7 separate regions of the Homo sapiens genome follow, and regions 1, 3, 4, 5, 6 and 7 are each linked to region 2. Evidence: promoter capture Hi-C in 16 types of primary human blood cells and fetal thymus (Javierre and others, 2016). All regions are on one chromosome and are shown on one strand. The core of a region is centred on a gene start or on the middle of the fragment in contact, and the rest is flanking DNA. Distances in the headings are between cores, read along the strand shown. Region 1 overlaps LY86 (lymphocyte antigen 86). Region 2 holds the start of SNRNP48 (small nuclear ribonucleoprotein U11/U12 subunit 48). Region 3 overlaps LOC101928004 (a long non-coding RNA gene). Region 4 overlaps LY86 (lymphocyte antigen 86). Region 5 has its middle 55 kb from the start of LY86-AS1. Region 6 overlaps LY86 (lymphocyte antigen 86). Region 7 overlaps LOC101928004 (a long non-coding RNA gene).

Evidence for each region. Contacts are between HindIII fragments. The CHiCAGO score rates a contact against its expected background, and 5 or more counts as called.
Region 1: a contact is called between a fragment that was not itself captured here and the fragment with the promoter of SNRNP48 in region 2, in 1 of 17 cell types (naive B cells). The highest score is 5.5, in naive B cells.
Region 3: a contact is called between a fragment that was not itself captured here and the fragment with the promoter of SNRNP48 in region 2, in 8 of 17 cell types (fetal thymus, total B cells, naive B cells and 5 more). The highest score is 9.3, in fetal thymus.
Region 4: a fragment that was not itself captured here is called in contact with the fragment with the promoter of SNRNP48 in region 2 in 5 of 17 cell types (naive B cells, non-activated CD4 T cells, total B cells and 2 more); the score reaches 7.4 in naive B cells.
Region 5: a contact is called between a fragment that was not itself captured here and the fragment with the promoter of SNRNP48 in region 2, in 7 of 17 cell types (fetal thymus, naive CD8 T cells, total B cells and 4 more). The highest score is 8.3, in fetal thymus.
Region 6: a fragment that was not itself captured here is called in contact with the fragment with the promoter of SNRNP48 in region 2 in 1 of 17 cell types (total B cells); the score reaches 5.3 in total B cells.
Region 7: a contact is called between a fragment that was not itself captured here and the fragment with the promoter of SNRNP48 in region 2, in 2 of 17 cell types (fetal thymus and total B cells). The highest score is 9.5, in fetal thymus.

The regions. Positions count from the first base shown.
Region 1 is chr6:6,629,533-6,632,886 of GRCh38, reverse strand. The region is part of intron 3 of LY86 (lymphocyte antigen 86); the gene reads right to left. Among named protein-coding and RNA genes, the nearest start is that of LY86-AS1, 8.4 kb to the right of the region's middle. The HindIII fragment of the contact is 532 bases long and covers 1,494-2,025 here.
Region 2 is chr6:7,587,927-7,591,670 of GRCh38, reverse strand. It overlaps SNRNP48 (small nuclear ribonucleoprotein U11/U12 subunit 48), which reads right to left and starts at 1,473. Exons shown (of 9, transcript NM_152551.4): 1 at 1,258-1,473. The coding sequence starts at 1,413. RefSeq lists enhancers at 1,249-1,398, 977-1,716. The HindIII fragment of the contact is 5,411 bases long and covers 1-2,705 here.
Region 3 is chr6:6,721,484-6,724,846 of GRCh38, reverse strand. All of the region lies in intron 2 of LOC101928004 (a long non-coding RNA gene), which reads left to right. It overlaps LOC101928047 (a long non-coding RNA gene), which reads right to left. Exons shown (of 6, transcript XR_001743949.2): 5 at 1-66. Among named protein-coding and RNA genes, the nearest start is that of LY86-AS1, 100 kb to the right of the region's middle. RefSeq lists enhancers at 1-54, 1-64. The HindIII fragment of the contact is 1,937 bases long and covers 769-2,705 here.
Region 4 is chr6:6,653,216-6,656,713 of GRCh38, reverse strand. LY86 (lymphocyte antigen 86) reads right to left here. Exons shown (of 5, transcript NM_004271.4): 5 at 1,732-2,170. The coding sequence ends at 2,087. Among named protein-coding and RNA genes, the nearest start is that of LY86-AS1, 32 kb to the right of the region's middle. RefSeq lists a silencer at 2,667-2,857. The HindIII fragment of the contact is 4,773 bases long and covers 1-3,498 here.
Region 5 is chr6:6,676,047-6,679,618 of GRCh38, reverse strand. No RefSeq gene overlaps it. Among named protein-coding and RNA genes, the nearest start is that of LY86-AS1, 55 kb to the right of the region's middle. The HindIII fragment of the contact is 3,069 bases long and covers 772-3,572 here.
Region 6 is chr6:6,604,634-6,608,298 of GRCh38, reverse strand. The region is part of intron 1 of LY86 (lymphocyte antigen 86); the gene reads right to left. All of the region lies in intron 1 of LY86-AS1 (LY86 antisense RNA 1), which reads left to right. Among named protein-coding and RNA genes, the nearest start is that of LY86-AS1, 16 kb to the left of the region's middle. The HindIII fragment of the contact is 6,589 bases long and covers 1-3,665 here.
Region 7 is chr6:6,704,035-6,707,766 of GRCh38, reverse strand. The region is part of intron 4 of LOC101928004 (a long non-coding RNA gene); the gene reads left to right. Among named protein-coding and RNA genes, the nearest start is that of LY86-AS1, 83 kb to the right of the region's middle. The HindIII fragment of the contact is 2,232 bases long and covers 381-2,612 here.

The sequences.
Region 1 (3,354 bases), core at 510-3,009, 960 kb after region 2:
CTTTGGGAAAAGTCTTTATGTCAGACTATTGTGGGCTAGGGTGACAGATCACACTTTGATAGATGTCAGGTTCCCTTGAAGGGAGTAGACATTCCTAAGATTATGCATTCTGGATGGAAGTCAAGCCAGTGGTAGAAAATAAAAATTTTAGAGGCTGACCTTAGATCAAAGGAAGAAGACAAAACAGAACAGAACAACATAGCCATGAAAGACTTGTTCAGTTACTGGTCAGGAAATTCTGGGATCCTGAGCAGGTTGGCAGTGTGAGATGTTATGGACTGGCTGCTCCTCTGGCTCTATGGTGAACCAGTTTGAGTCCTCTGGCCTGTTTCTATGACAGACCCACCAGAGTTTATCAATCAGCCCTGCAGTTTTCACAAAATGCTCCAACCCTCTGCCTCAAGGTCCCTCGGGTAGGGGAGGAAGCCCAGGGACTCAGTGCTGTGATTTCTAACGCGTCAGACACATCACATATCTTATTTAGTCTCCACTCTTACCCAATAATGAATTATGGCCACTCTCATTTGATAGATGCAGTAATTGAGAAATAGAGAAATGTAATGGCCCTCCAGACTGTCCATGGCAGCTGTGGGGAGGGAAGGAGACCTCCAGGCCTGCTCTCTGGCTTTTTCCTAAGGTGCTCTTCCTCCTGCCAGCTGCCACTCTGACCAGCCTATCTGTTAAGTCCCTTTTGCCCCAAATCTAATTTTTTGGCACAGGTCTTATAAAGCAGAGTCAAAGCACAGGTGTGGCATTGTCCTTGGTGTCCTGGATCTGAATTTATGCTGCAGCTCAGGTCAAGTGTCCACCTGGTGACAGCCCCCGCATACCTGTGCTCAGTAACTCTGGCTAAGAGCCCTGGATTCTGACTTACCTTCTAGCAGTGGTTCACAAAAGTTAACATGCCACAGAACCACTTAGAGCAGGACTGATCAGTCAAAAGAAGAATAATACTTCACCACATGTAAGAATTAAATGAAATTTAAATTTCAGTGTCCATAAATTAAACAAAGCCAAATCAATTATAAAATACATGCAGCAGATATAGACATACCTCACTTCATGTAATCTGGGCACACAGCCATGTCCACTCATTTTCATATTATCTCTGCAAGGGAAGGGTTGAGCAATTGCCACAGAGACCATATGGTCTGCAAAACCTAAAATGTTTACTATCCTTCCCTTTCCAGAAGAAAGTTTGCCAACACATGGCCCAAAAGGCTTGTTAAAATACAGATCACTAAGCCCCAACCCCAGAGCTTCTGATTCAGTACGTCTGGGTAGGGACCAAGAATCTGCCATTTCTAATAATTTCCTAGATGATGCTGATGTTGCTGGTCTGAGGACCACACTTTGAGAACCACTGCCTTATAATAATGGCTGGTTATGCCCAAAGATGATCCTTTGATTTCTATAATTTTGTTATGCCCTTTAAATCTTTTTCCGGTCTTAGTGGAGGGCTGAAATGAGTTTACTTCTTCTCTAGCAAAGCTTTCTTTATGTTTACAGAAGATATACAGCAGAGGGGTTTGGAGCTGGACAGAAACCCAGTTCCACCCCCCGCTGGCTTTGTGACCTTGGGTAAGTTAGACTCAATTTCCTCATCTGATAAGATGAGGGTGTATGTAGGAAAAAACAGTTTTTTCCTCCCATATTCTCAACACAGAGCACTTCTGGTCACCACCTGGCTTGGCTCTCACTCCTAGAGATTCTGATATCATTGGTCTGGGGTATGGCCTGGATGTTGGGAGCTTCAAAATTATAAAGGGAGATAATAATGCAGCGCTGCCAGTAAAAACATTAAAGAGAGTCACACATATAATTTTATGTTTTCTAGGAGCCACATTTTAAAAGTTGAAATTAATTTTAATATAATATTAATATCTTATCATTGATAAATGATTAAAATAATATATTAATGATAAATTCTACTTAACTCAGTATATTCCAAATATTAACATTTCAACACATAACCAGTGGAACAATGATAGAGATATTTTACATTCTTTTTCTAAGACTAAAGCTTTGAAACTGAGTCTGTACTTTACACTTACAGCACATCTCTATTCAGACTGGCTACATTTCAGGGCTCAGTCGCGACCTGTGGCTTGTGGTCATTGCTTCAGAAAGCACAGGAGCAGTTAATGTGCGACCAAGATGGAGACCCACTGGGGTAACGGCGCGCTTGGTGTTTGCAGACCAGACCAAAGCTCCCGGATCACACAGGGGTTCTATCGGCATTGTTGTTCTTGAGGATTGAGGGAGTTGGCTGCAGCTTCCCTCCTTTGGGCTAGGAATTAGTTGTGGTCATTAAGGACATTCAATGAAGCTCAATTTAGTCTTAAAAGTGGATGTGTAGCTTATGGAACCTGTTTGAAAGCATGGCAATCAACTAAAGCAAATACATCTGAATGACTCGATACTATCAGAGGAGACAGAAGGACCAAGGCAGCTTTAACAGAGAAGAAAGTAAAACAGTGGCCAATGTTGTCTCCTTCTCAGTGAGCCCACAGCCTGAGTAAATGGGGCTGTGGGTATCCCAGGCAAGAGGATGGCTGTTAGATCATCCCTTGATATTCTACGCAACTCTTTGATTCAGAACTTTCTATTCGAGTCCAAATATCGCTGGATATTACATAGGCTGTAATTCTCTTTGAAAACTCTTAAATTTATTCCCAGGGGAAGAGAATTTATTCTCTCTATTCTTTCCTGTAATGATAAAGTAACACTTAAAAGAGTAACCTTGCAAATTTATCATAAAAGCAAGCGAGATTTCCAAAAAAGACAAAAATAAAGATCTGCAGAGATAAGTACTCTTAGCACTAAAGTGTGTACTCTTTCAGAGTTTTTTTGTGTATACACTTACACACATTTTATACAATAGGATTCAACAGTGACTACACTTTTATAGCATGCTTCTTTGTCACATAATATTCTTACAAGTATATTTTCATGTAATTTAGTAATCTACGGCATCATTTTAAAATCACAGCATACTGTACCTTTGTTTGGCTGAATAATGACCTACTTAGTCAATGCCCTATCGTTGGCCATATACGCTATTTCCTCCACATTGTCAATCACAGCATAAGTAATCATACTGAAAGAGCATCAGCTGGTCTTTGAATCCAATGTGATGCTTGCCTTAAAGCTAGCTGAGGACAAGGCAGAGGGAAAGGAGGCAACATTTCAGTCTCACTAAGCCTGACCCATTTTGTGTTTTATTTGGCTTGGAGAAAAGCCAGCGAGATGCAGTTTGCAGAGGAATGCATAGTAATGCCATGGCAATGATACCAAACAGCTCAACTGCCAGTGACACCACAATGTGCCACCCACAGTGGACATTAAGTTTTC
Region 2 (3,744 bases), core at 224-2,723:
TACAAGGAATCCAATGTTACCGCAATGCTGAGTAAACAATGTATGGAAGGGTCTGGTAAGCCCCACTCAGTGGAATTCCCAGCTTCAAATACCCCTCTAAATGAATATTAAAGATTTTTTAATTTCCTCTGTGCTTTTAATACAATAAACAATGAATGGTATATACAGAAATCAAATATATTTTAAATGCCTCTGAGGAATCAGTCATGTAACTTAAACCCAGGAGAAATTATCACAGCATGGTAAACCCAGAAGTAATAGTAAAGATAATGAATTACCCCACATTGGAGCACTTCCCTTCCTCTCATTCCACCGAAAATACCCCACAAAAAAACAAAAATCACGAATGTTCACTCTAAATACACTTGCCTACATTTTTAAAAAAGCAATTCTAATGTCCACAGGAGTTGCCAGTTACCACCTCTTGGTGACAACCTTTAATAATCCTAGAATTGGTGCTGTCCCAGTCAGAAGTGTCCAATTTTAAGGCACAGAAAGGCGAACTGGCAAACTCCCAGCTCTCCTGACACCGAATCTGGTGCAACTGCGGAATCCGTATGACAGATGACAATGCAAACCGCCAATCCCTCTGCAGCGCTCTGAGACACGTTCACTTATTTTCTAAATAAATACCAAATCTGCCATTCCCTCCTCACTCAACACACCTTCCTGGATTTTGTTTGTTTGTTTTTTGAGACAGGGTCTTGCTCTGTCGCCCAGGCTGGAATGCAGTGGAGCGATCTCGGCTCACTGCAGCCTCGACCTCCTGGGCTCAAGCTATCCTTCCACCCCAGCCTCCCAAATAGCTGGGGCCACAGGCTCACACCACCACACCCGGCTAATTTTTGTACTTTTGGTAGAGAAGAGGTTTCACCATGTTGCCCAGGCTAGTCTGGAACTCCTGGGCTCAAGGGATCCTCCCGCCTTGGCCTCTCAAAGTGCTAGGATTACAGGCGTGCGCCACCGCGCCCGGCCCCCGGTTTTCTTTAAACTCGAAGTTGCGCGGGAGGAGCGCCGCACTGGAGGTCGATGTGGAGCCTTCGGGAGTTCCTCGCGCGCCCCAGCCCGGAACCCAGGGACGTCAGGGTTGCTCCAGGGCCCCCGGCGCCCCTCGGGTCCCAGGCGCCCATCGCGGCTCTGCACACGGACGAGGACTCCTCGCCCTTCCCTCCGCGGCTGCCAGTGCGGATCTCCCTTCTTCCAGAGAAGACCCCGGGCCGATAGTCCCCGAAAGGGCCCCGCGGCCGCGCTCCTCACCTCCGCCGCCTCCTCTTCCCCGGGATCCAGACTATCTAGGTCCCAGCCCAGGGACGCGGTCACCTCCTCCAACGTCCGGCAGCCGCTCTCCACGAACTCGTTCAGCTCCTCCTGCAGCCGCCGCCGCTCCTCCACAGGTGGAGGCTCGCCCTCCATAGCTGCAGCCCACCCGCCAAGAGGAAGCGGCCGAACTGCAGACCGCACGCGCAGGCCTCTGGGAGCTGTGGGCGGGGCCACAGTCGCCACGTGACTTGAACAGCCTATAGGGAAGAGTCCCGGGAAGGGCGGGACTGTTATTTTGAGAGGCGTTTTCCAATCTTTTCTCAGCTCTTGCGTGCATTTGCTCTGGCCTTTCCAGAAAGATATTCGCCCTCCTCGACTTCCTCAGAAAAAACGGCTTATAGCTACAGAAAAGTTTTAAAAATAGTACAATGAGCTTTCGTTTAGCCGTCCTTCAGCTCATTGTTAACATTTTGCCAGGTTTGATTTCTCTCCGTCTCTTCTCTCCACATTCACAGCCCCACCCAATGATTTTTGCTGAATTCTTTGAAAGTAAGTTGCAGATTTTTCACCCCCAAATATGTTAGCATGCATGTTCTAAGAATAAGAACATTTTCCTGTGTAACCGCAATACATGATCAAACCTAAGAAAATTAGTAAGTCCATAAAATCATTTATTATACAGTTCATATTCAAATTTCCCCATTGTCCCCAAAATTATTTCTATAGCAGTTTTATTTTTTCAACTCATAAGCTATAATTAGTTATTGTCTCTTTTAATCCAGATCAGCCTCCTTCACCCTCCTTTTTAAATTATTAAATCATTACATGTTGTGATGAGCCTAGGCCAGTTGTCTTGTAGAATCTCTCTCATTCTGGATTTGTCAGATTTTGTTTCCCTCATGATTAGATTCAGTTTGAGCACTTTTGCAATACTACCTAAGAGATGTTGCCAACTCACGGGGACGCATAACTCAGTTATATTAGTAATGCTAAATTTGATCACTTGGTAAAGGTGGTGGCTACATCTCTTCATTCTAATAGTACATTTTCCTCTTAGGAATTGGTAAGCAATCTGTGGATTATACCTTGAGTCCATAAGAATAACCTGTTCCCCAACTCCTTGATACAGTCCTTCACTGAATCTGTTGTTACATTAGGAGTTATAAGTGATTCCGCAATAGTATCATGCCTTTTATGTTTATTAACTGGCATTCTTTCCACACCTCCATTTTAGTGTTTGCTTCACTATGGGAATCAAGGTGTTTTTAAAGTTATTGATTTAAGGTTTTTTTTTAATTCAATATAATATACTCCTTTAACATCATAATTCTTGTTGATGCTCAAATTGTCCCAAATGTGGCCAGTGGAAGCCACATTAAGCCATCTGTGTCTTTCATGTATCCCTATTAGTCCTTGAATGCTTTCTTGCTTTGATAACACAAGCTTAACTTTGTACATTTCCTACCCAACACCTGGAATTAGCCCTTGTAGTTTCCCCAAATGGTTTCAACTCCTAGAATCTAACCCATTTTATATTACTTTTTAAAATTTTTTCAAGCCCAAGTGTCAAACCTTGGTTTCCTTTTGCACTTTGTTTACCCATGTGAAGGAACTGTGGGGGAATTTTTTGGTGAACAATTATTTCTAAAGGCAAATAGCACGGTTCTCACTTAAAAAAATAGTCATAAGACTATAAATAGGCAGCACCATAAAATACAGAAGTGGCTAGAAGCTGGTAAGAGAGGAGTATGAAGTTAATGTATTCATACTCTGCCTACAGTATCTTTTTTTTTTTTTTTTTGAGACGGAGTCTGGCTCTGCCACCCAGGCTGGAGTGCAGTGGCGCAATCTCAGCTCACTGCAACCTCCATCTCCCGGGTTCAAGCAATTCTTCTGCCACAGCCTCCCGAGTAGCTGGGACTACAGGCACATGCCACCACACCCTGCTAATTTTTCTATTTTTAATAGAGATGGGGTTTCACCATATTGGCCAGGCTGGTCTCGAACTCCTGACCTTGTGATCTGCTCGCCTCAGCCTCCCAAAGTGCTGGGATTACAGACGTGAGCCACCGCGCCCAGCCCGGTATCCTTACTTTTTATTTGCATTTCCATAGTTAGCTGGTTGGTCTGGAAAAATGTGAGACTATTTCTGATGTGACATGACTCCTGATAAAAAGTTCTAGTGTATATTTCCCTGTTTGTATATGTGAACCAAATTAAAACTTAGCCCACGTCAAACATATCCTCTCTTCAGGATACAGCCCCATGTCATCTCAGAGCTTCATGACAACATTGGCACAAGCCTGGAGGGAGTAGGAAAGATTTGTCAATTGACTGTACTCTCTAGTTACTGTTTCAGCCCGAGGAACTGCTCTACACTGATGCTGCTGATCTGTTTTGATATCACTTTCCTGGAGTGGTCTCCAGACTCCTGTTCTAGGCTAGGCCTCTGTTATGGATTGGATTGAGTCCCTCAAAAATGCC
Region 3 (3,363 bases), core at 488-2,987, 870 kb after region 2:
GCCTGTCTTTCTAACTTGTTTTTCTGCTGACGCTGGAGCCACGGTACTTTTGCTTTTTGAAACACCCTGTAATTGGAAGAAGAAAAAAAAAAGACGAGTCTGCTCAGTGTTATGAGACAGGCACGTGCTGCCCTCTAATGGCTCCTGCCTTGTGGGTTTCCAGGCTCCCCGGGGAAGGGGCGCCCCAGGCCTGCCTTCCTGGAGGGTCTGCGGAGGGTTTCCTTCCTCCGGGTAAGCGGGCCCCTTTCCCTGCAGCCTGCTCAAGCGTCGGGGAAAGATGTCCGAAGACAGGTAGCTTTGTGTGGCTGGCTGTGAGAGGAGAACGGTCCTACATTCCACTCCAGACCAGGAGCGTTTCTTGGAGCCATGTACCCTACCAGCTTAGGAAGGAGTTGCTCATCCTCCCTCGCAGTCCCTCTGTGTCTACAAAGGAAAGCACAGCGCATGGCAAAGGCCGGTCAGCAGGCTCGTGCACGCAAACAGGCTTCCTTTTCCTGTCCTGCTGGCCAGAGGGGATGCGGGGGATGGGGTAAAATGCTGCTGATACCCCCCTCAGACTTTCCACTGGCAGCCTCCGGAACCTACTCAAAAGCCGAACACAAACCTCTTGAAAAAAAACATCAGAGTTAATGTTTGCAGAAACTGAAGACATTGGTTGGACATAGTCCAGTTCTGTTTAGAGGGGAAACTAGGATTTAATCAAGGAACAAAGTTCATAGGTGTGGGAGGAAAACCTGGGAAACGTTCTGTTTTGGTAGCTGGAAAGCTTGTCTCCAGAAGTGAAGGAAAGAAGCTGAAAGAGGAACTTGTATTTTCCTCCAGCGAGCTCAGATCCTGGCAAAGGGAGAGCGTGATGCTGGTGCGAGCTCTGTGGCTCGGTGGGAAACAGTGCAAAAGTTAGTGTTCCCAAGTTTAGAACGTTTTATGTAGTAAGGGTTCTTGGAAAAGTGCAAACAAAGCAGAGTGGTCCTTCTTGAGCTTTTCCTAAGTTGGGAGTTACTGGTCACAGAGCTTAATGAGGCAGTTCCTGTGGGAGCGGCTGCTCGGGGTGGCAGACCACTGCTAAATTCTGCCCCCGGAAGGGTGATGGAGGCAGAAAGTGGAGAAGGCTGGGTTGAAATCTGACTGAATGAGCCTCATTTTCACAGGAGGGTTAGACAAGAAGTCCCTTTCCTGGCTGGCCACTTCTTGTAGAAATGGAGAAGCATTTTTATTTTTTACCTTATTTAGATCTTCAGTTACAAAAGGCTGTCATTAGGAAATGAGTCTTTCCCCATCCCTTCCCTGCTCAACTGTAGAGGATGAAAGTTTTTTTTTTTCCTTCTCTCTTTTCTGATAATCCTGAGCAAATTCTGAAGAAACACAATTTTTTTTTTTAAAGTGTTCTCTCTTTCAACAGAACTGGCCTGAACTTTTGGCCTAGTCTCTCTCCATAAGCCTGATGGTGCTCATCCAGCCCCAGATCGTGTGAGCAGCTCTCTAAGGCTATAGGAGCCCCGGGCATGTCCTCTTCAGGCCCTGTGGGAACCCTGGCTCCCACATTGTAAGGGATTGTCAGGAAAAAGGGTCAAGCTGGCTGTTAGTGCTGGCTTCAAGGGGACAGAGCTGGGTCTGAAATATGTGTATTTTCTATCTTGAGTTTTGTTTTATGAGCACCCCTGCAACCCACAGCTTACAGATGCCACAAGGTGCCTTTGGGAGATGTTTTTCCAGTCTTGTTCAGCAGGGAGCCCCTTTCCCCTAACCAAGCATTTCACACAAAGCCAGTCCCAAGTCTGGAGACCTCAGTATTTCCCCAAAGCTGGATTCCTGCTGAGCTGCACACATCTGCTCCCTAGTTGGTTCTATTTGGGTAAAATCAAAAGTAAACAGAGGGCCCTGGGCTTATATGTGATGTTTAAAACAAAAGGATGTAACCAGAGGGCCTCTACTTTGAATCCCTGACATTCCATGATTCGCTGCTAATGTTCTTCTAGCAGTGGCTGGAGGAAGCCGGCAAGATCTGAATGCCGTGGGGTCCTGGGGAAAATGGTACCCAACAGTAGGACTTCAGCTCAGCAGAAAGTAGACGAGGCTCTGAATATACCCTACCCCGTGCAATAGGCAGCCCACCAAATTCAGGTAACCCTTGCATTGTGGCTTTGCCCCCCACCTCTTTTTTTTTTTTTTTTTTTTTTTTTTTTTTTGAGATCGGGTGTTGCTCTGTCACCCAGGCTGGAGTGCAGTGGCGTGATCACAGCTCAATATTGCCTGGACTGCCTGAGCTGAAGTGATTCTCCCACCTCAGCCTCCCGTGTAGCTGGGACCATAGGTGCATTGCCACACCCAGCTAATTTTCAAAAAATTATTTGTAGTGAAGTCTCATTTTGTTGCCCAAACTGGTCTCCAACTCCCGGGCTCAAGCAATCCTCCCACCCTGGCCTCTCAAAGTACTGAGATTACAAGCGTGAGCCACCACACCCGGCCAGCTTTGCCACTTTTATAGGCTCACAGGCAAGTTACTTCTCCAAGCCTGTTTCCTCCCTGGTAAAATGAAAATGTGAGCATTAGATTGTTTGGATGCAGGGCTTATTCTATTGGAAGAAGTCAGTATTAAGGCTTGAGCAGATGGGAATGACATGTAGAGCTGGTTTTGGTGAGTTCTGTGCCGCATTTGGACCATGGGCAGGTGCGGGAAGGGGATATAGGATCCAAGTAGAAAAGCTTTGCAAAGAAAGACAATGGTTCAGAGAGGACAGACCTGGGACTCCTTGTGGAGAAACTGGTTCAGATCACAACCTGAGTCTTAAGAGCAGCCTCTGGGCAGGAGTCAGAAAGCTGGAGAAACATAGGAGAAACCCAAGAGGCCAACTCTGCATGGGGAATATAGCAGAGAAGAGAATAGGACAGGACCTGCAGGGAGAAGTTTTGGCAGAGTGGAAAAGGGGAGCTGAGGGGGCCCCAAACTGGGAATCAGTCCAAAGACACCAGTCTGCCAGGCTGAGAGGGGAACTTGGAGCAACAGCTTGTTAAGCACTTGATTAATGAATAAGCTGCTGGCTGGTTCAGGTAAGGGTGCACCTGTGATTTACCTAATCCCTACAAAGCTCACACAGTGAGATCTCCACGCACTCAAGTTGTTTTGTACTCGAAGTGCTTGACTGAGCCTGGACTGTGCTGAGCAGCCTTGTGGGAGGGACTCCTAGGAGAAAGTTTCTTAAAAACAAAAATAGACTCTTGGGGTGGTGGTTCTTGCCCATTAACCAAAGTGGCAATAAAAAGTTGCTTTTAAACTTGGGAGCTCCAGAAGCTATTATGGGACAAAATATGAGCAGAAGTTAGTAGTGTAGTATATCACTCTAGAATTTAGATTCTTTCATCCTT
Region 4 (3,498 bases), core at 970-3,469, 940 kb after region 2:
CCAAGCTGTTTTTTTTTTTTTTTTCTTCAGAAGAGTTTATTGAGGACACATTTTTGGAGTTGTTGATAGTGATTTTTGAAACAGTAGCAATTCTCTTTACAGGAGAAGTCAATTTAGTTTGATAGATTGTCTGGGCACTTTGACCCCACCCCAGCCAGTAACCACACAATGGCTAGCCTGAGAGGGCTCGGCTTGGGGTCACCCACCTCCCCTGACAACCCTGCTTCCTGGGCTGGCCCTTTCAAAGTCATCTTAGTTACTACATCCTGCCAGAGTGTTAAATAATGACAGACTCTAGCGTTTCTCCTAGCAGGGCTGTTCGTATTCCAAGAGGAGACTCCTGAACATTGAAATATGTTTTCAACTTGCTGGAATAAAACTAATGGTGAAATTTAAGGCCCATGACAGGACACTAAGAAAAGACATATTCTGGGACAAAGAAACATTTTTTTTTCTCTCAAATCATGTCCTTAGTGAAACGGCTGTGTACTTGTATATTCAGCTATGACTAGGATAGTCTCCATATATGGAAATTCCAGTTTAACACAAACCTATAGCATCTGAAACTTTCTCTCTCCCTCCCTCTCTCTCTCACGCACACGCACCCACACAGTCAATTTAAAGAAGAGGGCAAAGGGATTGGGAAGGGACTGGCTGAGTTCCACCTGTGTCTTTGGAAGGCTGTGACAGCTGTCTTGTACTGTTAGAACATGTGCGTACACAGAGTCTAGCCAGGGACTTTACTACTTGTGGTGATGGTTACTGAAAAGGGAGAGAGGTGAATGTCTCAAGCTAGAGGGAATGGCCAGGGGCAGGAATCATTTGCTATTCTTGTGCGTAACACCGTCACCCCCATGTACGTTCAGAGGTTTGCTCCTGAGCCTAGTATGACCACGCACGTCTTTTCCCTCGAGCATTATGGGCCTAGGCAAGGACGCTGCTGCAATTTTGCCTGCTCATAACCCAGAAAACCTCAGATGCTGGTTTTAAAGTTTGACAGGCATTTTTGACCTGCTATTCTAGGTGGTTTACTGATGTATAAACAGTGATTAATAGCAACTACTGTTTTTTAAACTATGGAATTTTTTTCTCTTTTAATCTCTAATATAGTGGCATTTTTATGAATGATAGTGTCAACTCACCCACCTTACTCCAGCCCCTTAGCAGGAGCAAGAGGGCCAGCAGGGACACTGGAAGGACAGGGGCGTCGGATGGTGAAGGGGCTATGCAGCCCACCATGCGATCAGTGCATCCCAGGAGAGAAGACGGGGCCGCAGAAATGGCTCTGGAAGTAGCATGGGCAACATGCTCATTTACGGAGAGCATCGTAGAAGACAACTTAAGAACACAGCACCTGATACACATTAAGTGTTCAGGAGTTATTCCTTGCATTCATTAATGAATGCAGTAATGAACGCCAGCATATGCTGAGGTCAAGTGTAATCATGCTTTGAGGGATGAAGGTGAAATGAATGTTTGGATAAGCGAGAGTATGATGTCCCTATTCGTGAGGTTGCATCAGCTTCTCGGCCCTCATGGTCCAAGGGTGGGGGCCTGCCCAGGAGAAGCAATGGCACATTTTCCCAGTGTTCTAATTTTAGCCAGGCTGTCACCCTCCTGAATTTCTTGGAACTGCTTATGCTGCACCAGCATCCGGCACTGTATCTGGAGGAAATGACTTTTTAACTACAGCATTGTAGTAAGATTCTTTGAACAAACCACAATGAACAATGGTGGCCAGCTTTCTTTATTCTTGGTAACTGTGAGGAAGCACTCCTAAAAAGTTGAAAAGCAGGTGAGTCTGGTGGGAGGCGACCAATTAGAGAAAAAGGATGGACCCTCAAGACTGCTTAAGGACTGCCAAGAGGCTCCTTAGAAACAGATACATTCGGGGACTTCATTACATCTGTGGAGTCTGGGGATGTCTGGTCCTGGGACTAAAATTAGCAGCTGCACTCTTTGGGGGCGCTTCTTTGTAGAGCCTCTCTCTGTCATCAGCTGCTTCTCCTCCCACAGTAGGTTCAGTCAGAGGAGCTTGGAGGTCCCACGAGATGCAGCTGGCTGTGATTTTTGCTACAGGCCACAGTCAGGAGCACATGATAGTAGCATTGGCACAGGCCACGGTGGACCGTTTTTCAGTGTACAGTTCCAGCAAAACCTGGTATTCTCCCTGCAAGGGGCACAGGTCAAGTATTAGACGTGTGACCCACAGTACAATTAACCATTTAACAAATATTTACAGAGAAACTTTTATGTGCTGGGTGCTGTTCTGGACATTGTGGATAACGTAGAACAAGACAAGCCAACCCCTGCCCTGTGGAGCTGACAGCATCTCTGGGAGAGACAGACCACCCTTATGATATGTGACTATGTATGGTGTGTCAGGTGCTCATGTCATGGAGAAAACTCATGCAGGAAGGGAGTGGATGGAAGCACTGGATGGGTCAAGGCAAGTGCTGGTCTGCAATTTTGAGCAGGGTGGTGAAAGGAGGCCCTGCTGAGACGACGACATTTAGGCAAAGACCTGAAGCAGATGCAAGAAGGTGCAGTGCTGCTATGGGCTGGGGCCCCCACCTTAGAGGGGCAGAAGGAGGCCAGTGGGGCTGCAGGGAGTGGGGGGATGGGGGGGGTGAGGTAAGGGCAACACAGGAGGCCAGACTCTTAGGGCCTCAAAGGCCATGGTGGGGACATCAGCTTCCACTCTGAAAGGGACTCTGGTCAGGAGAGGGTGGCCTGCCCTGGCGCCTGTGTCGGTAAGATCCCTCTGGCTGCCTCACTGAAAAGCCCAGATGGGAGGCGATTGCAGGAATCCAGGTGAGAGATGAAGATGACTTGGAGTAGAGGTGGAGGTGGGGGAAGGCTTTGGGTGCCAGAGAGATTTTGAAAGAACAGCCAATAGGATCCGCTGAGGAAACGCAAGTGGGTGGGAGAGAAAGAAATGGGTTAAAGGTGACTCCAAGGCTCCTGGCCTGAGCAACTGGAAGGAGAAAGGTTTGTATGCTCAGACAGAGAAGACCCCGGGGAGCACAGTTCACCAGCACAAAACCAAAATGCACCATCACAGAAAGAATGGCTGCCTTTGGGGATCCTTGCTGGCAGCAACACTGTAAGGAGGTCTCCCTTCCTTTGCAGTCAGCTTGGCAGAAGCCACCTGGCAGCCAGGTCCTATGAGGACTGTAGAAGAGCCATTCTGGTTTTGTTTGCTGCCAGCACCCCAGTCCTGCACCCCAGCAGCCACGGAGCGGTGATGTGTTTGTAGACACGAATCTGGAGAGGAAAATGCTCTGGGGTGGTTGGAGGGTCGCAAGCGGAGCAGAGGGACTGTGGCAGAGGAGGCCAGGAGACTGCTGGCACATCTTTGAACTGCCTGTCACCCAAAGGAGGAAAGAGTTTAATCTGTATAAAGCAAGAGGGAAGGAGTAGGTGAGACCACCGGAGAGAAGCTGCATGAAAGGTGGCTTTTGTTAGAAGGGAGCAACTTTCTAGCAATGAGCAGAG
Region 5 (3,572 bases), core at 1,057-3,556, 910 kb after region 2:
CCATTATCTCAGGGTAACGTCCAGACTCCTAAAGTGGCTTCCAAAGTCCTTCATTATCTGATGGGCCTCTGTGTACTTTCTCTCTCTTCTCTCTCCATTCCTGGCCCTCCTCATCAATTCTCTGGCCATTTTGAACTTGACTCAGTCTCCCCAATGTGCCAGGCTTTCCCTGGCTTCCCGGCTCTGCGGGAGGATGAGAGTGGGCTCAACTGTCTTTTGAGGGAATCCTGGAAACACACCCACCCTGAGAGTCATTGTTTTGATGGAAGTGACATTCCAAACCAACATTTGGAACCAAGTCCTGTAAGCCAGAACCTGCACAGGTTTTGTTAAAGGAATCAATTTAGGCCTGGCACTGAACTCCTTTCTGCTGTAAGACTCTTTTAGAACTTTGGAAGTTTCTATGCAGGGGACTGAGCCATCCTGTCCCTGCCTGGTTGGGCATGAGAAGTCACTTGGAATAGGTCTGAGTGAATGCTGATGAACTCCGACTTAGCTCTGGTAAACAGTGCAAGTTCCCATGAGACTGCAGGGCAAGAACAGGGCAGGCTGCACACCGCGGGGAGAGGCACACCTCGTTCCGTCAAGAGACACCTGGGCCTGGTGCAGGCGCATTCTCCGTGGTTAACGGGTGTGAAATCGGCATTTATCATCAGTGACTTTTCATTGTGTGGCTTCTGTGAGTCCCCACCTTCCTTCTAAACCTCAGCAGGACACTTTCCCTTCCCTGTAGTTCAAATATGCGCCGCAACCTCAGCTTGATCTCAAGCTTTCTATTGCCATGTAAACAATCAGGGAGCCCTGGAATGGTGGGCTCCAGGGGTGGGTGGGTCAGGGCCACCCCCAGGGGTGCAGAGTCTGAAGGGGCTAAACTCCGGGCGGAGGCTGGGGGGCCTCAAAAGCATTTTCATGCAGGTGAGAAAAGGAAAATTTCCAGGGCATCTTGGCTGAAGCACAGAAGTGACTCCCGGAAGACCTGGCATGTGTGAGATGTAGGAGGGATGCTCTGTGCCTGCTTGTGTGTGTGCATGAGTGCGTGTGTGTGTATGTGTGTATGCGTGTACATGTGGTGGGTATGATGAGCCTCGGGGCTCCCTTTAGCATCTGCTGGTGAGTTTACTGTGCCTGCCGACCGTTTCCCAGGTCAGGCCTCCGCCCATGATAACTACTGTTTACCAAACACTTACTGTAGGTCAGTGACTCACATATGTGATCTCATTTCACTCTCCCAACAACCCTGACGTAAGGACTATTATCCCTATTTAACACATGAGGAAAGGGAGGTTTGAGAGCTCTGGTTACTTTTTCACATTCTGAAGCTAGGTGCCTCCACAGCACATGAAATGTTCTGCCGTCGTTCGTCTCCCTGGGACCATATGGAAACGGGGGCTGCTTCCCCTGGAGATCACAAAGGGCTTCTGCAGTAGAGAAAGGAGACTAAGAGCACCTTTCTAGACTTTTCCTTAGCATTCTTCAAGATGTACTATCAGAAGTTCAATAAAAACAACCTAATGCTGAGATTCATGGATAGAAAATTGACTCAACTTCCTGCCTTCCGACGAGCTTATTTTCTTCTTAGCCATTGTAAATTGGTGGAGCCGTGTTCCTCCTTGTCTTAGAAACTTTTAATGGTGCTGTTGCCCTCAGGTTAAGGTCTGGACTCCTTGTGGCTCTCCAAATCCCTCAGAGTCCTTCATTGTCTGAGCAGGCACACTCATCTTCTGTAGTTTAAAAGGTGGCAGTGGCTGGGCGCAGTGGCTCACGCCTGTAATCCCAGCACTTTGGGAGGCCGAGGCAGGCAGATCACCTGAAGTTGGGAGTTTGAGACCAGCCTGACCAACATGGAGAAACCCCGTCTCTACTAAAAATACAAAATTAGCCAGGCGTGGTGGCACATGCCTGTAACCCCAGCTACCCGGGAGGCTGAGGCAGGAGAATCGCTTGAACCTGGGAGGCAGAAGTTGGGGTGAGCTGATATCGCTCCATTGCACTCCAGTCTGGGCAACAAGAGCAAAACTCACTCTCAAAAAAAAAAAAAAGAGTGACAGTAATGACATGATCATTAAACATCTTTCAGGGAAGACTCTATGAGACCGATGTTTGCATGCTAAAGACAGGTGTTGCTGCCGGAAAGTGATTCGGTTTGAGGACTCAGGACTTGGGAACATCAGTCTCATCTCAACAGAACCCTTTTTTCAGTTCCCTGCTGTTTCCTGCACAAACTGGGGGAATGTGCTTGGCCTCCCTGGAGCTCGGATTGTCTAGCAGCTTGGATTGCTTAGTCCCCCTTTCCACACCTTCCTGCCACCCTGAGGGGGAGGCCTGATGGTTCATGGGCTTCCGCAGAAGGAATTTGCCCACTCTGCTTCCTAAAATGTGCAGCTGCATTTTGCTGCTGGGAAAATATTGATTGAAGGTCTGGAGGAGTCTGACAACTTGTAAGGCACATACAGTTTTTATCTGCAGGATGAAGTTAGTTTTTGTTTGGGCCTGGTGTTTTCGAAAGAAGGAAATCACTTTCATAAGCATCAGATTAGATCCAGGAAGCGTCCGCAGGACAATGAGAAGCTGATAGAGGCAGTGTCTCAGGATTTTGCCATTGGTTACTACCGCCACCTCCTGGCTGAAATTGTGAACTACACAGCATGGGCTTCCTGGGCAAACTGGTTTAAGAAAAGGTAGCCCCGTTTTCCCCATTTTCTGCAAGTTCTGTGTGGCGCAAAAAGGAAATGAGAAGACTTATTGTTTAGATAGAGTATTTATTGGCATATTTTATATTAACTGTGATGATAAAGCAGACACAAGAATAAGAAATAAAATCAGAGTGAATTTTTCTCATCTGAGGCAACAGGGAAAATAATTCATTGGAACAACCCTGTGACTCAGTGTTAGCTTTGCCCAAAATAAGTGTCAAGGCCCTTATCTGAGTTTCCAAGACCCCCTGCCCATTCTCTTAAGCTGACCTCTTAGCATATTGAGGGAAATCTACCAAACATTTTGGAAAATTAGTACAAAATTAAGGAATTAAAATGAAAATTGCAATATAAAAAATTATTGGGTCTGAGGCATGTCTTCAGGTTGTACAAGGAAAAGATGTAAGATTTGGTATCTCTCCTCTTCATTATTTTATATTGGTTTTATACATAAGCCCTCACCCTGTAGAAATATAAGTTCTAAGTTAGGAAAAGGATTATTTGTAACATACATGCAATACACATACATTGACAGAAATAGAAACAGGCTTTTTCTGTTATTTAAATAGTATTTTTGGAGTAGATTGGTTTTTCGTTTGTTTGTTTTTGAGACAGAGTCTTGCCCTGTCGCCAGGCTGGAGTGCAGTGGCGCGATCTCTGCTCCTTGCAATATTTTCCTCCCGGGTTCAAGTGATTCTCCTGCCTCTGCCTCCCGAATAGCTGGGACTACAAGCGTGTGCCACCATACCCAGCTAATTTTTGTATTTTTACTAGAGACAGGGTTTCACCATGTTGGTCAGGATGGTCTCTATCTCCTGACCTCATGATCCGCCTGCCTCGGCCTCCCAAAGTGCTGGGATTACAGGAGTGAGCCACTGT
Region 6 (3,665 bases), core at 927-3,426, 980 kb after region 2:
ACTTTCATTAGTTCCAGTAATTTGTAGATTAGGTTTTTCTGCGTAGACAAAGTCATATTATATGCACATAATAGTATTTTTGTTTGCTCCTTTCAAATCCTTTAACATTTTCTTTTTCTTGTCTTACTACACTGGTGAGGTCCTTCAGTACAATGCTGAATACAAGTGGCAGTGACGGGCAAATTTGTCTCACTCTTGATTTTAAAGGGAACGTTTCCAATGTTTCACCATTAAATGTATTGTTCACTGTAGATCTATATTTTAGGTGTATTTCTTTAAAGAGCAGACAGCTAACTTTTAAAATGCAATTTGTCATTTTTTTGTTTTGTAAGATCAGGTTAATATAGTCCATTTATATCTATTAGGGCTTCTGATTTATTTTTTTATTTTTATTTTTATTTTTTGAGATGGAGTCTTATTCTGTCAGCTGGAGTGCAGTGGCACTATCTCAGCTTACCGCAACCTTTGCCTCCCGGGTTCAAGCGATTCTCCTGCCTCAACCTCCCGAGTAGCTGGGATTACAGGCACCCGCCACTACGCCCAGCTAATTTTTGTATTTTTTGTAGAGACGGGGTTTCGCCATGTTGGCCAGGCTGATCTTGAACAACTGACCTCAGGTGATCTACCTGCCTCAGCCTCCCAAAGTGCTGGGATTACAGGCATGAGCCACCGTGCCCAGCCAAGCCTCTGATATTTTAATAATTATTTTATCCTATTTTGGGTTTTCTTTCTTTATGCCTTTCCTCCCTTCTTTCCAGCATTCTTTTGGATTTAATTGGAATATTTTAATTTTTTCTTTTGTTTTTATTGTTTTGTTTATAGTTTGGAAATCATATACTTTATTTCTAGTCAGGTAGTACTTACCTTTGAAAATTTAACACGAATATCTTAATAAATCTTAAAAATAAACTTCTCTTTTTCCTATTTTTAAAACCTTGGTATATAAGTATGTATATATTTGTTTTTATTGTGGCAAAAAACACATGACAGTGAATTTCCCATCTTAACCATTTTCAAGAGTACAGTTTGGAAGTCTTCAGTATATTCACATTGTTGGGCCACAGATTTCTAGAACTTTTTCGTCTTGCATAAATAAACATTGTCTTTACTCTCCTCCCTGAAAAAGACCAGGTCAAGGACATGAGAATGCTTTAATGTTCACTCACCAGCCCCTCCTCTGTGTGCTATTGTTATCTGCCGTTTTGCACTAGGCAGCCTCCAACATGGCCCCAGGGACCCCCTCCTAGTGTTCACGTCCCGTGCAATCCCCTCCTCTGGAGTAGCCCAGTGACTTGCTTCTAAGCGGTAGTGAGAGGTGACAGCATGCTGGCAGCCCTCACAGCCCTCACTCGCTCTCAGCGCCTCCTCGGCCTCGGTGCCCACTCTGTCCACGCTTGAGGTGCCCTTCAGCCTGCCGTTGCACTGTGGGAGCCCCTTTCTGGGCTGGCCAAGGCCGGAGCCCGCTCCCTCAGCTTGCGGGGTGGTGTGGAGGGAGAGGCGTAAGCGGGAACCCGGGCTGCGCGCGGCGCTTGCGGGCCAGCGCGAGTTCCGGGTGGGCGTGGGCTCAGCGGGCCCCGCAAGTGCTGCAGGTCCGCCCGCAAGCCCCGGGTAGTGAGGGGCTTAGCACCTGGGCCAGTAGCTGCTGTGCTCAATTTCTCGCCGGGCCTTAGCTTCCTCCCCGCGTGGCAGGGCTAGGGACCTGCAGCCCGCCATGCCTGAGCCTCCCCCCGCTCCGTGGGCTCCTGTGCCGCCCAAGCCTCCCCGACGAGCGCCGCCCCCTGCTACACGGCGCCCCGGTCCCATCGACCACCCAAGGGCTGAGGAGTGCGGGTGCGCGGTGTGGGACTGGCAGGCAGCTCCACCTGCCGCCCAGGTGCAGGATCCAGTGGGTGAAGCCAGCTGGGATCCTGAGTCTGGGGGGGACTTGGAGAACCTTTATGTCTACCTAAGGGATTGTAAATACACCAATCAGCACCCTGTGTCTAGCTCAGGGTTTGTGAATGCACCAATCGACACTCTGTGTTTAGCTACTCTGGTGGGGCCTTGGAGAACCTTTGCGTCCACACTCTGTATCTAGCTAATCTAGTGGGGAGGTGGAGAGCCTTTGTGTCTAGCTCAGGGATTGTAAACGCACCAATCAGTGCCCTGTCAAAATGGACCACTCGGCCTTCTCTGTAAAATGGACCAATCAGCAGGATGTGGGTGGGGCCAGATGAGAATAAAAGCAGGCTGCCCGCGCTAGCAGCAGTAACCTGCTTGAGTAGTATTACGTGCTGTGGAAGTTTTGTTCTTTTGCTTTTCGCAGTAAATTTTGCTGGTGGTCGCTCTTTGGGTCCACGCTTCTTTTATGAGTTATAACCCATACTGTGAAGGTCTGCAGCTTCATTCCTGAAGCCAGCGAGACTAAGAACCCACCGCGAGAAACGAAGAGCTCCAGATGCCCCCTTAAGAGCTGTAACATTCACCGGGAAAGTCAGCCAGCGAGACCACGAACCCCACCAAAAGGAAGAAACTGAACACATCCCAGCATCAGAAAGAATAAGTTCTGGACACACTGCCTTTTAAGAACTGTAACACTCACCGCGAGGTTCCGCGGCTTCATTCTTTAAGTCCGTGAGATGAAGAACCCATCAATTCCAGACACAGTAGAACATAGCGAAAACATTGGAATGTTGCTTCTGAGATGAGGCTGCAATGTCATGAGACTATGACAGCTGTCATGCGCTTTCTCCCACTCCGTGGGAAGCACGTTGCCATGTTATGGGGTAGCGTTGTGGGGAGACCCCCCATGGCAAGGCACTGATCTCTGGCTAATAGCTATTGAAGACTTGAACTCCAGTAACAGCCCTGTGAGTGGGCATGAAAGCGGATCTTTGGAGGTCTGTTCATTGCGATGTACTCACATGAGTTTGGAAGCAGCTGCTCCCCCAGCCAAGCCTAGAATTGACTACTTCATCACCTTTTCCCAGAGACCCCCAACTAAACCACACCCAAATTCCTGCCCCAGAGGAAAAAAACTGTGAGGTGAGGTGATAATGCTTATTGTTTTTAACTGCCAAATTTTAGGGTATTTGTTATGCAGAAATAGAAATCTAACACATTCTTGTTCCAAATTCATCATTATCATCATTACATTCATTGATAAAGTTGCTACTTTGCTTGTCATTCCATTTTATATCTCAAAACTGACTTCTGGGGTCATTTCAAGTACCCTTTAAAGTTCTTTTAGTGAGAGTCTCGGTGGCAAACACTCTAGATTTTTTTTTCTCCAAAGTCTTTTACTTACTATTGAATGACTTAACTATACTGTATGTAGAATTGTAGCTATACTGTATATAGAATTCTAGGTTCTACGTTGATTGTTATTTTCTCTTTTCTATGAGAGTATTGCTGGAGCCAGCTGTCAGTCTATAACTTCTTTTAGGTAATTTCTCTTGCAACTTTTACCATTTTTTTTTTTCCTTTGGTGGTTTGTGGTTTTATCCTGGTTGGTCTAATTGTGAAATTTCTTTTACGAATCTCTGGGAAACTGTGGGAAGCACGTTGCTATGTTGTGGGTAGCCTGGTGGAGAGACCCCCAATGTAATGCACTGATATCTCTGGCTAATAAACATTGAAGAGTTATTGCATTTATTGAAGCTGAAATGCATGTCTTTTGCAGTTCT
Region 7 (3,732 bases), core at 247-2,746, 880 kb after region 2:
ATAAATAAAAAGAACTCAACCAGTTTTCTTTGGTGATGGAGGATGGTTCTTACAGCAGTGTCCTTCCTTTAAATTGTATGAGCTGTAGTGTAGAAATAGAAATGAAACAGTTATCTTTTTGTCTAGTTTTTGGACAAAAAATTGGTCCAGAACACACCATGAAGGATGATTCTGGGAAATCAGATATTGCAGATGAAAGAGAACTTGGCTGGGGACAAGCTCTGGGTTCTAGCTCTGGTTCTAATGCCAACTTGCTGGGTGTCTGGGACTGTCACTCTCATCTAGGGGTGGAACTAAAGCACCTTCAGACCTCTGCTGCCTCTAACAGTTTCTTCTAGAACAAGTCCATGCATGAGTCAGTTGAGAGAGTTGCTAAAGCTTAACAGAATATAAAGGAATAAGGAAGAAGAAACCACTCCACCTCTGCCCTTCCACTTTCGTCGGCAGGGTACGTCCACCCATAGCATGGGCTCCCTGTGTGACCCACTTCCCTGCTTCCGCATGGGCTTGAGGGAGGAGGAGGCCTGGCATGCCGGAAGGCTGGCCAGGGGTGAGGTCCGTGCTTGGGGACTGGTGATGTGAGAATGGGCTAAGCAGTGAAGAACTCTGTGGCATCTGTTTTTAAAATGGAGTCCAGGGGTGAGCAGTGGCTTATGAATGTTCTCAAGAAAGAAATGATGACTAGCCTTGGACATTTTGATGTTGCTCTTTGAAAAGATCCATATTCTCTTTTGGGATGAATTATAGTTCACTTGTGATATTTCTTTTAAATATATTTTTTAATCTTTAAAATTATTTTTATTTTTATTATTTTTTAGAGATGATTCCTTGCTCTGTTGCCCAGATGGGAGTGCAGTGGGCACCATTATAGCTCACTGCAGTCTCGAACTCCTGGGCTCAAGTGTTCCTCCCACCACAATTTCCCAAATAGCTCGGACTACGAGTGTGACTTACAATATTTCTTATTACACAGGAAGCTGAATTTTTTTCTTTAACTTGCAAGAAGTCTGTGGCATTTTTTAAATTTATTTTTGTCTTCACAAACAAGTAGAGTAAGTGATTTAAAAAGGTATACACGTGAAATCTTTTTCATAGGTTATCCATATTACATGGTAAGCAAGTTAAACATATAAAAGGCTGTACAGAGAAAAAAGGAGTCCTCCTCCCAGCTCGGGGGTAGTTGATCTTTGTTTTCTTATCACTATGGTCTTGGAGGGCAGAAGTTGGAGAGTTGAAGCCATAGTGAAGCATCACCAAACTAAGAAGGCTCAGGTCTTGGGACAGCTCCATGCACAGGCTGAATGGGACGGCTGCCAGGAAGATAATATTCTGTTCTGGATGTACATTTCCAGGGCCAGTAAGTGACTGCACACACCTGAGGCAGTTGACCTTCTGCTCTGTCGATGAAAGAAGAGGGGACAAAAATCAAGGGACAGGAACAAGGCAAGAAATTGAGGCTTTTGGAGTTATAGGCTGGAATTGTGCTGAATTTTCTTCTGAAATAGTTCACTAAGGTGTATTAGCCAACCACTTATGTCTTTCCTTCTATGTCATTTTCTTTTTTTTTTTTTTTTTTTTTTTTTTGTTATGGAGTTTTGCTCTTGTCCAGACTGGAGTGCAGTGGCGCAATCTTGGCTCACTGTGACCTCCGCCTCCTGAGTTCAAGTGATTCTCCTGCCTCAGCTCCTGAGTAGCTGGGATTACAGGCGTGCACCACCACGCCCGGCTAACTTTTGTATTTTTTGGGAGAGACGGGGTTTCACCGCGTTGGCCAGGCTGGTCTCGAACTCCTGACGTTAGGTGATCTGCCCACCTTAGCCTCCCAAAGTGCTGGGATTATAAGCATGAGCCACCATACCCAACCTATGTCATCATTTTCAGTGGAAGTAGTTGTCTAATACGAGGAAGTAACACGTGTTCAAAAGAATAGAGTAGGGTTGCTTGATCTTCTGTGTTTTCTTAGAGCTCTATTTTCTTTGTGTTCAGAGCAAGTTCTGATTTGGACAAAAAGCATGGCCTCTTAGGGCTGTCAGTGCTGCCACTTACTTGGTTGTGGGCTTAATGTGCTGGCTTTGAGTCTGTCTCACTGACTCCCATGCTTCGTGGGTCCCTGGAATTCTGTGCTTATGGGGATCCCCAACATGACCTGCACATAGGACAGCAGGAAAGGAGGACATATATACTGCGTACATCTCCTCTGCTCACATGCATCTCCACTGTCCCCATAGGATTTCACTCGTAAAACACAAGTTCACAGATAAGACTAAGGATGTTAAGACGGTGATGGTAGAGCACTAAGCCAAGTGTGGGTCCTTCTAAGCACAAGGCCTTGTGCAGCATGACAGGTTGGTCACCATGAAGTGGTCTCTGCCGATGTGGTTATGAAACCAGGAGGGCTGAGGGATCTTGAAACATGGGATGAGCTGCCTAAGGCCAAAACCAATGTTCTGAGGATGGTAGAGCCCAGAGCTTGAAGGAATTTATGTTCCTGACAACAACACTGAACCACTGGTTTTAATCTCCTTGGAACTTGCTTGGACTTCTTATCTGAGATTAGAATATCCTTGTTTTTAAAGGTGGTTTGAGCTGAGTGTCACTTGCAGGTGAAAGCTTTGTGACGTACACCAGAGGACATCTTGTCCCTAATGAGTGAATGCCATAATACTTTACCTTTATTTTCCTTACTAGGCTCCATCTCCGTAGCCTGCTTTTGACAAAAGTGGATACATAAATCTAGGGGCCACCTAGCTAGTTCTAATAAGACTTTGGAAGTCAAAAGCTAAAGAAGACCAGGGGACCAAGCTGGAAATCAGGCTCTGCAATCAGATTCCAGAGGGAATGCCATTCCACCCAATCACCTAGCCACAACGGTTCCCTTCCTTCAAGATGCTGCATGCCTCTTCAGGCGAATGGATTACCTTGTAAGAGTGACCTGAAAAAGCGTTAGCCCAGCCACACCGAGGCTTAACTGAGCCATTTGATTCTCACTGCCTCTCTCTGTTGCTTCCTCTTGCTTTCAACTACAGGGTCTTTCTGTTTAGGTGGTGAAAAAAATGATCGTTAAAAACAATAAACCTGGGGACCTCTGATACCATGAGCCCAGCCAGAGATCTGTGTCAAGCAAATCCTTGCAGACAGTTCTGCCAGCCTGCAGATGGCTGTTTGCCTCTCGTGGATTTGATAAGTGCTCATTTATGCCCAGAGGCCTCTGGGAGATAGTGCTCATGCTGAGCTTACAAACTGAAAACCATTATCTGTTCCTTACCTGAGACCCTGGGGAGCAGTCAGCTCACTCCCTGCCGATGGCCTAAGATAGGTACTGATGTTACAGTTGAGGAATATCTAGGAGTAACAAACTTAAGTAGCTGGAATATGCCAATTTTGACAATTTGACAACATCATTATAAACATTCTGAAGTACTTACAAGTCTTTTTTTTTTTTTTTTTTTTTTTTGGGAGACAGAGTCTTACTTACTCTGTCACAGACTAAAGTGCAGTGGCGTGATCTCGGCTCACTACAACCTTTGCCTTCTAGATTCAAGCGATTTTCCTGCCTCAGCCTCCCGAGTAGCTGAGATTACAGTCACACACTAAGGTGCCCGGCTAATTTTTGTATTTTCAGTGGAGAAGGGGTTTCACCACGTTGGTCAGGCTGGTCTGGAACTCCTGACCTCAGGTGATCTGCCTGCCTCAGCCTCCCAAAGTGTTGGGATTACAGGCATGAGCCACCGT